Linked DNA regions of Homo sapiens: all the other regions are linked to region 1. Evidence: promoter capture Hi-C in human tissues and cell types (Jung and others, 2019). All regions are on one chromosome and are shown on one strand. The core of a region is centred on a gene start or on the middle of the fragment in contact, and the rest is flanking DNA. Distances in the headings are between cores, read along the strand shown.

Region 1 (4,300 bases), core at 216-2,715:
AGACTGTTTGGAGTTCAAACCCTCCACATATCTGCACTAGGAGCCTCCCCAGGCCACCAGGCAGGGTGGGGCAGGGCACGGTCATCAAAGCTAAAACCAGACCTAACCACGGAGGCGGAAATCAGACCAGGCCAGGCCAGTCCACGGAGGCTGAGACTGGGCCAGAACTTAACTCGTCGGACCCACATTCCTGGGCCTAGCCCTAGCCCAAGTGCCATTCTCCCAGGGAGACCAATTGTCACTAAATTGGACGCCCAGGACCTGTCAAGGCCCAATTTCAAAAGCAGGGTGCCACCAAGAACCCTAGAAGGCCCCTTCTCCAAGCCCAGGGAAGCCCCTCCCAACTTCAGGCCTCAGGGAGGGAAAGGAAGGTCATTCATTCACCCCTCCATTCATTAGGACCACAACTGGAAGCCTCAGTCCTGAGGGCAACGACTGGATCCCATAAACTCGGACACCCATGCCACCCTCTCACCCACCTCAGAGCACAGACCCTCTGCAAGCTACACAGCCCCGCCAGCGCCGATGCTGCTGTCTCCCCGCTCCCTCCACTTCCACACACTCCCACCCGGGTCTCCGCGGGCTCTCCGAACCAAGCCCTCAGCCCAGCTTTCCCAAACAGCCCACACAGCGACACGGGTATTGGGCAACTGTAACCAGCTCCAACCGGAAGTACCTGCCTGTGGGTGAGACCCACCTGACCCTCGGGGCCGGCCGCCATAAGGGCGAGGGCTGAGGACCTCCCGTGGGGGACATGGGCTCCCCACCAGCCGGAAAGCTCCAGCGACCGGCTGGGCGTTCCTGGGCCGGACCCGCGCCGCCGCCCGCGCACTGGGGCCTTCGAGGTGTGATGTCACCTGCCCGCAGAATCGGCCCCCCTCGCGCCGCCCCCCTCGCGCCCCCACCCCAGCCTCCCTCTCGCCGCTCCCGGGGCTAATATGGCAGCGGCGCCGCCGCCCCACCCCCGCAACCGCACGACCCGGCTGGCAGGGCCGCCGGCCCGGACCCCCGAGACTCACACCCCGGCCAGGCCCGCACGCCCTGCGCCCCGGACCCCCGGCGGCTCCCCGCAGCCCTCGGGGCGCCGACCCCCGCCCGCTGTCACACGAGGCCCGGGCGCCCCCGACAGCTCGGGATTACGTCAGAGTGACGTCACACACCGGACCCCGGCGAGCTGCGGGCATGAGCAACGCGCGCGCCCCCGCCCCCGAGTCCCTCCCGCCGCCGCGCTCACCGCTGAAGACCATGGCGGCCGAGGCGCCCATGACGGCGAAAAACGAAGCATACTCGGGGCCGCTCTTGGACTCGGACATGTCTGCGGGTGGGGAGGGGGCAAGCTCTGCGGGCCGAGGCGGTGGCGGAGGCGGGGGCGAGGACGGGCCGGGCACGAAGGTTTGCGGGCGGGCGGCGGCGAAGGCGATCCGGCCCGTCAGCCGCTGCGCTCTAAATACCAGCACCGCAGAACAAAATGGCGGCCGCGGCCGCGTCACATGACCTGGGCCCCGCCCCTGCGAGCCGTACCACTTCGCACCGTGGGGGAGACGCGTCCCCGGGACGCCCGGCCGGCCCGTTGACCTCCCCCGGGCTGTGCCGCCCGCCCAGCGACCCGGCCCCGGCGCCCGGCCCCGCCCTGCCTCGGCCTCCGCGGGTGTTTCCGGGCGCCGCCGGCCTCTGGATCTCCGCAGCGTTGGACCGGTCTCGCGCCGGGGCGGGGCGGTGTGGTGTGTGCTTCATTAGCATACGGGGCGGGGCCTCGGACGCCCCGCCTCCTCTGCGGCTGCGCGTCGTCTGCAGGTGTTGGGTTCCCGGCGACGCTTTTCTTTGTACCCCTGGCGTGAAGCTGCAGGCCGTGGTTTCGCGGCCTTGCCCCCAAGACGGGGCCTCACCCCTCCGGGCGCTGGTCTTCCAGGATCTCCCTACCAATCCTGGGCGAGCTAAGGGTCCCAGCAGATGTGCGGCGCGCGGGCCTCCTCTGCCACAGCGTCCGGAAAAGCCCCCAGCCCACACCTGTGAAGTCCCAGCCCGTGGCTGCGGTCACCTCCCTCCACCCTGTCCCCAGTCTCCTCCAGACCCAGACCTACTGCCTCTGACCCAGCAGTTGGTGACTTCACCTCTCGCTTCGGAGAAAAAGGACCCCCTCCCCGCACCTGTCTCTGCCTTTGCATCAGGGACCCAAACATTAGTGGGGTGTGTCTCTGCCCCTCAAGATGTAGGCATGACTGGTGGAAGCCCTGTCGGAACTGCGACCTCTGGAGGCCCCCCGGGCTCTGCACGTTCTGGCGTCCTGGTCCTCCCACCTGTCCTTGCAGCCACCCACTCACGCAAAGCCTGCACCTTCAGGGCCATCTTTCTGTCTTTCTGGAGCAGTTGGAGCGGTTCCCGCAGCCGTGAAAGCAGCCCAGCCAGGGCTGGCGCTGCCCTACTGATCCTGTGTGGCAGTCCCTGGCACCCCCTCTGCCTGATCTCCATTCCCCCTTTCAGGGGCCCTGGGCAGCTGCCACCAGGCCTGAGTGTCCTTTGAGCTCTAAGGCCTCATCCTGGGTTAGAGCTCTCCCTGAGTAGCCTGGATGCTGGCTCATCACCTTCTCTATGTAGGCAATGGGGTCATGGCCCCTGGTCTGGCCCTCCTGCTGGACTCAGCCCCACCTTCCCCAGCAGGAGCCTCCCTCAAGCCCCTTCCCCAGGCTAGCCTGGGTCTGCCACTCTTGGAACTTGCAGCCCGTGAAAGTCCCTAAGTCTGTCCTGGTTCAAAGGAGAGGAGGCAACAGATACGGCCAGAGGCCCTTTCTGCTCCTCCCTCTTTCTTGCCCGGCCCTTGTTTCTGAGAAGACGAATCTTCACTCTGTCTCCACCTCCTCACCTGCCCTTCCCTCTCCAGCTCCTTGCCCTTGCCAAGGTCACTGGTGACCGCCATTTCTCTAAGCAGAAGGACATCTGTCAGGCTGTCCAAGTGGACCTCTGTGCTGCGTGGCCTGCCACCCTCTCCACACACTCTCCTCTCTCCTGCGGACTTCCTAAATCTCAGACGCCCTCATTCTTCCTGGAGTCACAAGGCCCTGTAGCCCCAATTTTGCTGCAGGTCCTGGCATACCCAGGGCTACCCCTAGCTCTGCCCTTCCCCTGCTTGATCCCATCCTTTCCCTGGCTTTGTCCCCCATCTTACGCCGTCTTGTCCCTCACCTGCACCATTCCAGCCCCGACCGCCCTCTGAGTGAGAGCAACACCAGTGCCTGCCCCCATAACTCCAAGCCCTCCAGGAAAGCCTAGGCCAGGAAGGCTGTGCCTGGGGCCGAATTCAGACCAAGGAAAGGTGGCGCAGAGCAGCCCACCATGGAGAAACAGCACAGTCCAAGCTCAGGGGTGGGCTGGGCACGGTGGCTCCCGCCTGTAATCCCAGCACTGTGGGAGGCCGAGGCAGGAGGATTGCTTGATCCCAGGAGTTTAAGACCAGCCTGGGCAACAAAGTGAGACCTCGTCTCAAACAAAACATTGTAGGGTGGGCAAAGAGCACCTAACTCCATTGTGGCTGAAACACCAGGACTGGGGACATGGGGACGTGGAGAGACTTCCCTCTTGCAGGAGCAGGGAGTGGGTCAGCTGTGCTCACTGGCCTCTTACCCATTCATTTTCTGCCTAAGTTCTAGTGTGAGAGGTCACACCGGGTCTCCAGTGTGGCTCCTGACACTTCAAGCTGGCGTGTCTGAAGCTGAGCTCGCCCCCACCCCTTCACCACCACCTTCCACTGGGCTATTTCCATTCCCGCAGAAGGCACGCCCATCCCCCCGCAGCCTGACGTCACGCCACTGCTCCCTCCCCACTCTGTATTACTCAGGATCCCGAGATCCTGCCTCCCCAGCTTGTGTCCGCGCCCGCGCCCCTGCCCCTGCCGCTGCCTGGCCTAGGTCTTCTCATCGCCTACCCCCAATCAACCGAGTCTTCACCTTAAAGCCACAGGTTCTTTCCAAAGGGCACTTTCCATCCTGGAATCCTTCGGCCCCTCAAGAGCCCTCCCTGGTCCCCTCCCGCTTCTCATCACCAGCCCCCCAACGTGTCTGCATCACCTGTGTCTGCACCAACTCTCTTCCTCACTCCCTACTTAAGAAATGCACCTCAGTTGGCGGGGTGCCTATAATCCCAACATTTTGGGAGGCCGAGGCGGGTGGATCACGAGTCAGGAGATGGAGACCTCCTGGCTAACACAGTTAAACCCTGTCTCTACTAAAAATACAAAAAATTAGCTGGGCGTGGTGGCACACACCTGTAATCCCAGCTACTGCAGAGGCTGAGGCAGGAGAATCGC
Region 2 (4,289 bases), core at 855-3,354, 85 kb after region 1:
GAGACACCACGCCCGGCTAATTTTTGTATTTTTAGTAGAGATGGGGGTTTTGCCAAGTTGGCCAGGCTGGTCTGGAACTCCTGACCTCAGGTGATCCACCCCCCTTCGGCCTCCCAAAGTGCTAGGATTAAGGCATGAGCCACCGTGCCTGGCCTCTGCCCCAACCTCTTTTTTAGCCAAAGTTTTGTTCTGACAGTTAAGAACACAAGGCCTGATGGTATAATCAACAATGCTAGGGCTCATAGTGTTTTCATGCAGGGACTTACAGCTCGGACGGCCAGGATGTCCTCTACAGAAAGCCATTTCAGGATGTGAAAGAGCACATCTTCGGGGAGACTCAAGATGGTCAGGTTTCGGGGCCTCCTCCTTATTCTTCGCTTTGTAGGATAACAGAAACACTTGGCACACCTACAGTGGACCACTGAAGGAAAAAAAGACAGAAGCCTTGATAAGATGAAAAATTATTCTATATACACACCCTTGAAGGGAAAAAAAAAGGATAAAAGTTACATCTGAAGATGATCTAATGGTTACTATTCCCTGTGCCACAAAAGATGGAACTATGCTTCTTGTCCCAAACAAAGATTATGTAAAGGAGTGGCATTGCACAAATTACAGAAGAGATCATTCATTTTCAAATATTCAACAAATATTTATGGCAAATAGCGCATGTCATGTAACTTGGCTATTGGGAAACTTTCTGATCCAGAGCCCACATGACAGGCAGGAAGGGGAAAAAGCTGCCGAAGCTGAGGACGGTTTTCCTTCTATTTCACTCTCAGGAAAACTCCTGGGGCCTTTGCTGGATAGCTTTGCTTTTTGCACACGTGACCAAGGTGCATAATGTTCAATAAAGATCTGTGGGCTTGAAGAGTCTGGTTTTCAAGTCCAAATTAGAAGGGTCGGCCCTGGAGAGAAGCCACAGACTTGGAGGCCGGGGCAGTGTGCGTCCAAGTCTCAGCTCTGCAGAGTCTCAGTGTGCCCTCTATTGTAGAATGCGGAGTTGACAGCTACGCAGTAAGGTTGTTGCTCAGGTCCCAACACAAACCTAGACCTGTAGGTTTGTGTACAGATGCAATCATTAAAGGTGAGACGGGCATTCCACCCACCAGGCAGGCAGCCCGGACATGCTTCTCAGATGTGCTCTCTCCTCTTCCCACAGCCGGATTTTCCAACTCCTACTCCAGCAACCCCTTCCTCACTCTAAGCAGATGACCTTAGCCCTTATTTCACAGGGAAACAGAAGCCCTCAGACAGGAACCTCAGGATCCTGCCTCCCCATCTACAAATCTACCTTTCTATCCATCCTTCCTTCCAGTCCTGAAAGGAAGCGCCACTCCCCTCTGTGGGCCCAAATCCCTCCCCGCCTTGCTAGGACTTCCTAGCGATTGCTCCCGGCTCCCCTCTCTTGACCGGGGTCTTCCTGTTAGCAATTAAATCAGCTGCAAAAGCCAAACGTATTCCAGGGCGACGAATTCTCAAAGATTCTATAGACCTCTCCATAAAATATTCCTCATTCTCCGGCTCCAGGACAGATACTATGATAATAGCTGAAACCACAGTTCGTGTTTCCTGTGCCTCAACGCGCGCGGGGCCGAACGCTGCTTTCCACAGAGCTAGGTCCACGGCCCCGCTGGACTGAGGCTCGGTCAGGGCCCGGCCGGGCTGCGGGATCGCTTCGCCCCCACGCGCTCCGCAGCCCTTTCCCCGACCAGGAGGCGCTGGTGTTTGGCTCCCCGAGACCCGATCGCCGCCCCGGGACCCGATCGCCGGATCGCTGCCCCGGGACCCGATCGTTGCCCCAGGAAAGGGCCGGAAAACGTCGCCGCGGGGGAAGGCTCCGAGGGGCTCGGGCGCCCGCCGGGCATTTAAACCGCGCGCCCGGCCGCCGGGGCTCCCTGCGCGGGACGCGACATCCGCCCCGGGTTAAAGAGCTCGAGCCAGCCCTCTTCAGGCCGCCAGGGCCTCCCCTCCCGCGGGACCCACCGTCCGCCCCGCAGGGCAGGCAGAAGGGGTGTGGGGCAGAAACCAGCGGACATCGCCCCGCACTCACCGCCGCCGCTCCCCATCGCCGCGCTCGCGTCGCTGCCGCCGGAGCCCGCCTGAGAGCGCGCCCGCGCCCCGGCCGGAGCGCGCGTAGCCCTCGCGCAGGCGCAGACCCCGCCCCGCCGCCCACCCCAGTTTTCAAACGCACCCGGCCCTCCCATTGGCCTGCCCGGGGGGGCCGCCGCCGGCCCCGCCCATGTCCCGCCCTGTGCTCGCCTCATTTACCGCCCTCCACGCCCTCCCCGCCTGCTCCGGGACCCGCCATTGGCCGCGCCAGGACGCGAATTCGAACATTGGCCGCTGATTGGTGGAACCCGCGTGGCCGCCCCGCCTCCCCAACGGGGCTGGGGTCCCGTAGGAGCGCTTCCCGGCCGGCGGGCAGGGGTTTGTGGGCGTCCCCTCCCGGCCGCATGGGTTCGGGCTTCGCCGCTGACCCCGGCGACCGGCATCTGCGGTGCCAGATGGGCTGCGAAGGCGCACGCCTGCGGCCAGGGGAAAGAGGACTCCTTGGCGTCCCTCGCAGTCGCGGCCGTGATCCAGCCTGGGACAGCCTCGACGTGGCGCTTCTAAGACGAGGCCGTGCCCTGCCCGGGTCCCGGGGTCGCTCCTGGGCCCGCGACCCTCACCCCCAGCTTGCACGGCCTTCCCTTCCGCCGCCTGCTTCAGGTGGAGACCCTTGGGTTTGTGGCTGAGCCGCTGCTGGGCGGGGATGCTGGCCGGGATCGTGGTAGAGAAAGAGGAGGTCGGAGCTGACGCTGGGAAGTCTCCCCCGCGGAACGCTGACCCCTTCTTCCCGCGAAACGTGGCGCACCCTGGACGCCTCAGTGCTCCAGCCCCGGGGCAAGCCCTCCCCATCACTTTGGCCAGATGCTGCCCCCTGTCTGGCCTCCTCGGCTGCTACCTGGAGCTGCTCGCCGCGGGAAGTGTCGTATCTGCTCACTCTTGTCTTGGGCAGTGCCCATCTGAGCTGTCCTTCAGGAGTCAGCCACACCGCACCCCTTTTACGGCACAGGCTGTCAAGGGGAAGACTCGCAGCCTCCTGACTGTCTGGTGGAGGACAGAGGGGGCTTTTCCTGGGGAAGGCAGGGGCCTGGGCCAAGGCTGCCCACCCCTCCCTCACGCTTCCCTCAGTCTGCACCCTTCCATCCTTCCGGGTCCCCATAGAACTCCTTCAAGTACTGGGCCTGCCCTGGGCACACAGACAGGAGCCCTGGCGTGCAGGCTTCAGCCGGCCTGGGGCAAGAGACAGAGTAAACAGGTGATCACAGCACAGGGTACAGAAGAGTCCGTGGCCCCAGAGAGGGTCTGGAAGTTGGGAATATTCCCTGTCCCGGAATCAGGAAGCGGGTGAAGGAGGGTGAAGAGAGGACAGGCTGAGCGAGTTTGGGGCCTGCTCCCCAGATGTCCCATGTTCTCAGCCCCCAGATTTATTATCCCCTTATCTCACTTTTGTCCTCCTGGGTTACTGTTTCCTACTTTGTCACTGTTACCTGTCTCCCCCTAGGGCAGAGGTGCACTTTCAGGGTTAGCTTCCATAGCATCTTGAAGGGATTAATCAACTAGAGCCAGCCATGAGCACATTAGCCACACCAGCTGCCTCTAGAATCTAGAACAGCATCCTTGGTCCCTAGGTTGTTGTTTAGCTCTATCCTGTGCTTTGTGTCCTGATCACTCTCCTTTCAACATGGACAGGCAAATTTCTTTTTCAGGGAGCAGGAGTTGTCTTGACTGCAGCCATGCCTGCTCTCGCCCCACACCCTGCACTGGCAGTGGGAGCCTCCAGGGCTGCCCTGGGGTGATAAGTGGCTCCTCCAGGGTGTGGGCCCGTTTCCCACTGGGCTTCAGGAAGGTGAGACCTTGTTGGAAAAGTCTAAACTGTTAGGAGCTCAGGGAAATTCCTGGTGGAATGAGGTGTCGGTTGAAAACGTTATGGGTAGTGAGGGGCAGGGGAGAGAAGGGAAAGTGAAGTAGCTTGGGAGCCTGAGAAATCCCACATTCAGAGAAGAAGATGGGCCTTCAGTGGAGGCAGAGAGGGGCATGGGAGGAATGAGAGCTGGATATGGGAGCCCAGGGAGTGGCTTTCATCACAGGGAGCAGTCACCTGAAACGAGGACTGAGGAGGGTGGGTTGGCGACCATGGGTGTGCAACGCCGTTGTTCTGGGCAAGGGGTGCAGGAACCATAGGCAAGGCCTGTGCATGACCCTTTCCTGAGTCCTGGCTGAGAAGGGGCAGAGACCAGCAT
Region 3 (3,938 bases), core at 1,270-3,769, 100 kb after region 1:
GATGTTTTTTCTTCTATGAATAGCCCATTTATTTCTTCAGCCCATTTTTTACTAACAAATTGTTCATATTTTCTCACTGATTTATATGATGGAGATATATATATATGTGTGTATGTATATATATGTATGTGTCTTTGTCCTTTATGTATGTGTCAAGTATTTCCGTTATTTAACATCAGTTAATGTGTCTTTTCTTATATAGACTTGAATGTTTATGTATTTAAATATTATATACTACTTTGTCGTTTCTGGGTTTCATGGCAAGCTCTGGAGGGTCTTCCACATCATAAAGGTAGAAAACTATACTTCTGAGCCAGGCACGGTGGTGTGCACCTGTATAGTTCCAGCTATTCAGGAGGCTGAGGTGGGAGGACTGGTTGAGTCCAGGAGTTCTAGGCTGCAGTGAGCCATAATTGCACCACTGCACTCCAGCCTGGGCAACAGAGCAAGACCTTCTTTCTTAAAAAAAAAAAATGAGGGGAGGGGCCCAAAGGTTGTTTGAAAGTCTGTGCTGGGCATGTGGCCACAGGAATCCTGACTGTCCCCTAGCAGGTGGTTACATTGTTCTCTACCACCCACCAGCACTGATTATCAGGGAACATGCTGCTCCAGCAGCCCCCGAAGGCACCCTCCCTTTGGACAGAGGCCAAGTCTGTTTGCTGCTCTTTTCTGGGGAATCTATAGGAGAATCACGTGAACCTGGAAGTTTGAGACCAGCCTAGGCAAAATAGCAAGACCCCCATCTCTACTAAAATACAAAAATTAGACTGGCATGGTGGCACCTGCCTGCAGTTCCAGGGAAAAAGTGAAACCTTACCTCTAAAAAAAAGGAAAAACTATTCACCAGTCATGGTGGCATGCGCCTGAAATCCCAGCTACTTGGGAGGTTGAGGCAGGAGAATTGCTTGAACCAGGAGGTGGAGGTTGCAGTGAGCTGAGATTGTGCTACTGCACTCTAGACTGGGTGACAGAGCAAGACTCCATCTCAAAAAAAAAAAAAAAAAAGAAAAGAAATTGAATTTGTAGTTAAAAATCTTCCACCAAAACAGAAACTTTTGTCTTTTCAACAAATGGCACTGGGACAATTACACATATATGCAAAAGAATGAATTTGGATCTCTACCTAACACCATATAAAAAATTAAAATGAATCAAAGGCCTAAATGTAAGAGCTAAAACTCAGCCGGGCGCAGTGGCTCATGCCTGTAATCCCAGCACTTTGGGAGGCCGACGCAGGCGGATCACGAGGTCAGGAGATCGAGACCATCCTGGCTAACATGGTGAAATCCCGTCTCTACTAAGAATACAAAAACAAAATTAGATGGGCGTAGTAGCAGGCAGGTGCCTGCTACTCGGTAGTCGCAGCTACTCAGGAGGCTGAGGCTGGAGAATGGTGTGAACCCGTGAGGTGGAGCTTGCAGTGAGCCAAGATCCCGCCACTGCACTCCAGCCTGGGTGACAGAGCAAGACTCCATCTCAAAAAAAAAAAAAAAAAAAAAAAGCTAAAACTCTTAGAAGAAAATGTAGAGGTAAAACTTCCCTATCTTGCATAAGGCAATAATTTCTTAAATCAAAAACACAAAAGAGAAAAGAATAGATAAATTGGTCTTTGTCATAATTTCATAATTAAAAGCTTTTGTTCATCAAGGGACACTGTCAAGAAAGTGAAAAGACAACCTGCAATATAGGAGGAAATATTTGAAAATGATATATTTGACAAGGTCTAGTATCCAACTTTGTAAAGAATTATTGGCTGGGTGTGGTGGCTTATGCCTGCAAGCATTTTGAGAGGCCGAGGTAGGAGGATTGCTTGAGGCCAGGAGTTCGAGACCAGCCTGGGCAACATAGTGAGACTACTGTCTCTACAAAAAATTAAAAAATTAGCCGGGCACAGTGGCATGCACCCGTAGTCCCAGCTACACAGGAAGCTGAGGTGGGAAGATGGTTTGAGCCCAGGAGGTCGAGTCTGCAGTAAGCCGTGATTATGCCATTACACTCCAGCCTGGATGACAGAGTAAGACCTGTCCAAAAAAAAAAAAAAAAAAAAAAAAAAATTTTTACAACTTCCTGATAAAAAGAAAAAAGACAAATAACCTAATTAAAAATGGAGGAGGGATTTGACTAAATAGCTCTCCCAAGAAGATATACAAATAGCCAATAAGCACATGAAAAGATGCTCAACATCATTAGTCATTAGGAAAACAAAGACCAAAACCACAATGTGATACTAATTTATACTCATTAGAATAGCTATAATAATTTTTTTTAAAAAGAGATGGGGTCTTGCTATGTTGCCCAAGCTGGCTTCAAGCTCCTAGACTCAAGCGATCCTCCCACTTCAGCTGGGACTACAGATTGAACAGCTGGGACTACAGATGCATGCCACTGTACATGGCTTTATAATACAATTTTTAAAAGGAATTTAAAAATGTTGGAAAAGGGGGCATAAAATTACCACCAGACCTGCCCTATAAGAAATGTTGAAAGGAGGTCAGGCACAGTGGTGCATGCCTGTAATCCCAGCTACTCAGGAGGCTGAGGCAGGAGAATCGCTTGAACCCAAAAGGCAGAGGTTGCAGTGAGAGCTGAGACTGCACCACTGCACTCCAGCCTGGGAGACAGAGTAAGACTCCGTCTAAAAAAAAAAAAAAAAAAAGAAAAAAGAAAAAAAATTGATAAATGAAATTTCATGCTATGTATATTGTACTATAATTTAAAAAGTAAATAATTTTTTAAAGCGTTGGAGAGGATGTGGACAAACTGGAATCCTCAGACTTTGCTGGTAGGAATGTAAAATGGTTCAGCTAATGTAGAAAACAGTTTTGTAGTTCCTCAAAATGCTAAACACAGTTACCATATGACCTAGCAAATATAGTCTTGGTATATACCCAAGAGAACTGAAAACATGTTCACATAAAAACTCATATCCAAATGTTTATAATACTGTTATTCGTAATAGCAAAAGCAGAAACAACCCACATGTCCATCAACAGATGAAAAGATAAATTGTGGTGAAACCATACAATGGACTAACATTCAGCTACGCAAAGGGATGGAGCACTGACACCTCTTACAACATGGATGAACCTTGAAAACATTATTCTAAGTACAAGCAGACAGACACAAAGCTCACACATTGTATTATTCCATTTATGTGAAATATCCAGAACAAGCAAATTCATAACAGCAGGAAGCAGATTAGTGATTGCGAGGGGCTGGGGGAAGAAGGGAATGGGGAGTGACTGTTAATGGGTATAGGGTTTCCTTTTGGAGTGATGAAAATTTTCTAGAATTAGATAGTGGGGAAGGTTACTCTGCATATACCAAAAACCACTGACTTGTAAATTTTATTCTTTTTAAAAAAACTCTTATCTCATGACAGATTACTGACTTGTAAGCTTTAAAAGGGCATATTTTATATGAATTATGTTTCAACAAAAATGTAATTAACAAATTCCATTTACAATACTCACAGACTTCATTACACTCAATATCACTCAGGTTCTTGACACTGCAAAACCTCTGTAGTTCAGAGTTGTAATATAAGTTGGTGAAAGCCATCCCCAGGCAGTGCCCTGGAAGTATTAGGAATGTATAATCCAAGGATTTTGAGATTGTTGCATAGCCTAGCTATGCGAAGAGAATAGAAAATATTAACTCTGCTTGCAGGAAGAAAAGGGCATATCTTCTATTATCTATCCTAACCCACGTTATTGTATATCCATCATTACAACATCAGACTCCCAGGCCTCCAGACCAGAAAACTGGTTCTCCCTGACTCCTCTTCCTCTATAGTCATTCAACCTCTAAGACCTAAGTATCTTTCTTCTGCTATGCTCCTCGAATCTGTCACTTTACTTCTTTCCAATTGTTCACGCGGGAGGATCTGCAAGAACACGGTGTGTGTGGGAAAATCAGGAGCACAGCCGCAGCATGGG

What was found. The method cuts DNA at HindIII sites, captures the fragments that hold promoters and counts their contacts. A contact is called where the count stands out against the background at its distance.
Region 2: a contact is called between the fragment with the promoter of CCNF here and the fragment with the promoter of ATP6V0C in region 1, in 8 of the 25 tissues and cell types used here (H1 embryonic stem cells, IMR-90 fibroblasts, dorsolateral prefrontal cortex and 5 more).
Region 3: a fragment that was not itself captured here is called in contact with the fragment with the promoter of ATP6V0C in region 1 in 4 of the 25 tissues and cell types used here (dorsolateral prefrontal cortex, lymphoblastoid cells, mesenchymal stem cells and 1 more).

What each region holds. Positions count from the first base shown.
Region 1 is chr16:2,511,117-2,515,416 of GRCh38, reverse strand. ATP6V0C (ATPase H+ transporting V0 subunit c) reads right to left here and starts at 1,465. Exons shown (of 3, transcript NM_001694.4): 1 at 1,235-1,465. The coding sequence starts at 1,313. RefSeq lists silencers at 710-849, 1,270-1,749 and enhancers at 2,655-2,949, 3,740-4,300. The HindIII fragment of the contact is 15,008 bases long and covers 1-4,300 here.
Region 2 is chr16:2,427,262-2,431,550 of GRCh38, reverse strand. CCNF (cyclin F) reads right to left here and starts at 2,104. Exons shown (of 17, transcript NM_001761.3): 1 at 2,054-2,104; 2 at 267-421. The coding sequence starts at 2,069. RefSeq lists silencers at 1,729-1,778, 1,789-2,638 and enhancers at 2,849-3,028, 2,464-3,043. The HindIII fragment of the contact is 14,340 bases long and covers 1-4,289 here.
Region 3 is chr16:2,411,955-2,415,892 of GRCh38, reverse strand. It overlaps the pseudogene ABCA17P. Among named protein-coding and RNA genes, the nearest start is that of CCNF, 16 kb to the left of the region's middle. The HindIII fragment of the contact is 3,526 bases long and covers 757-3,938 here.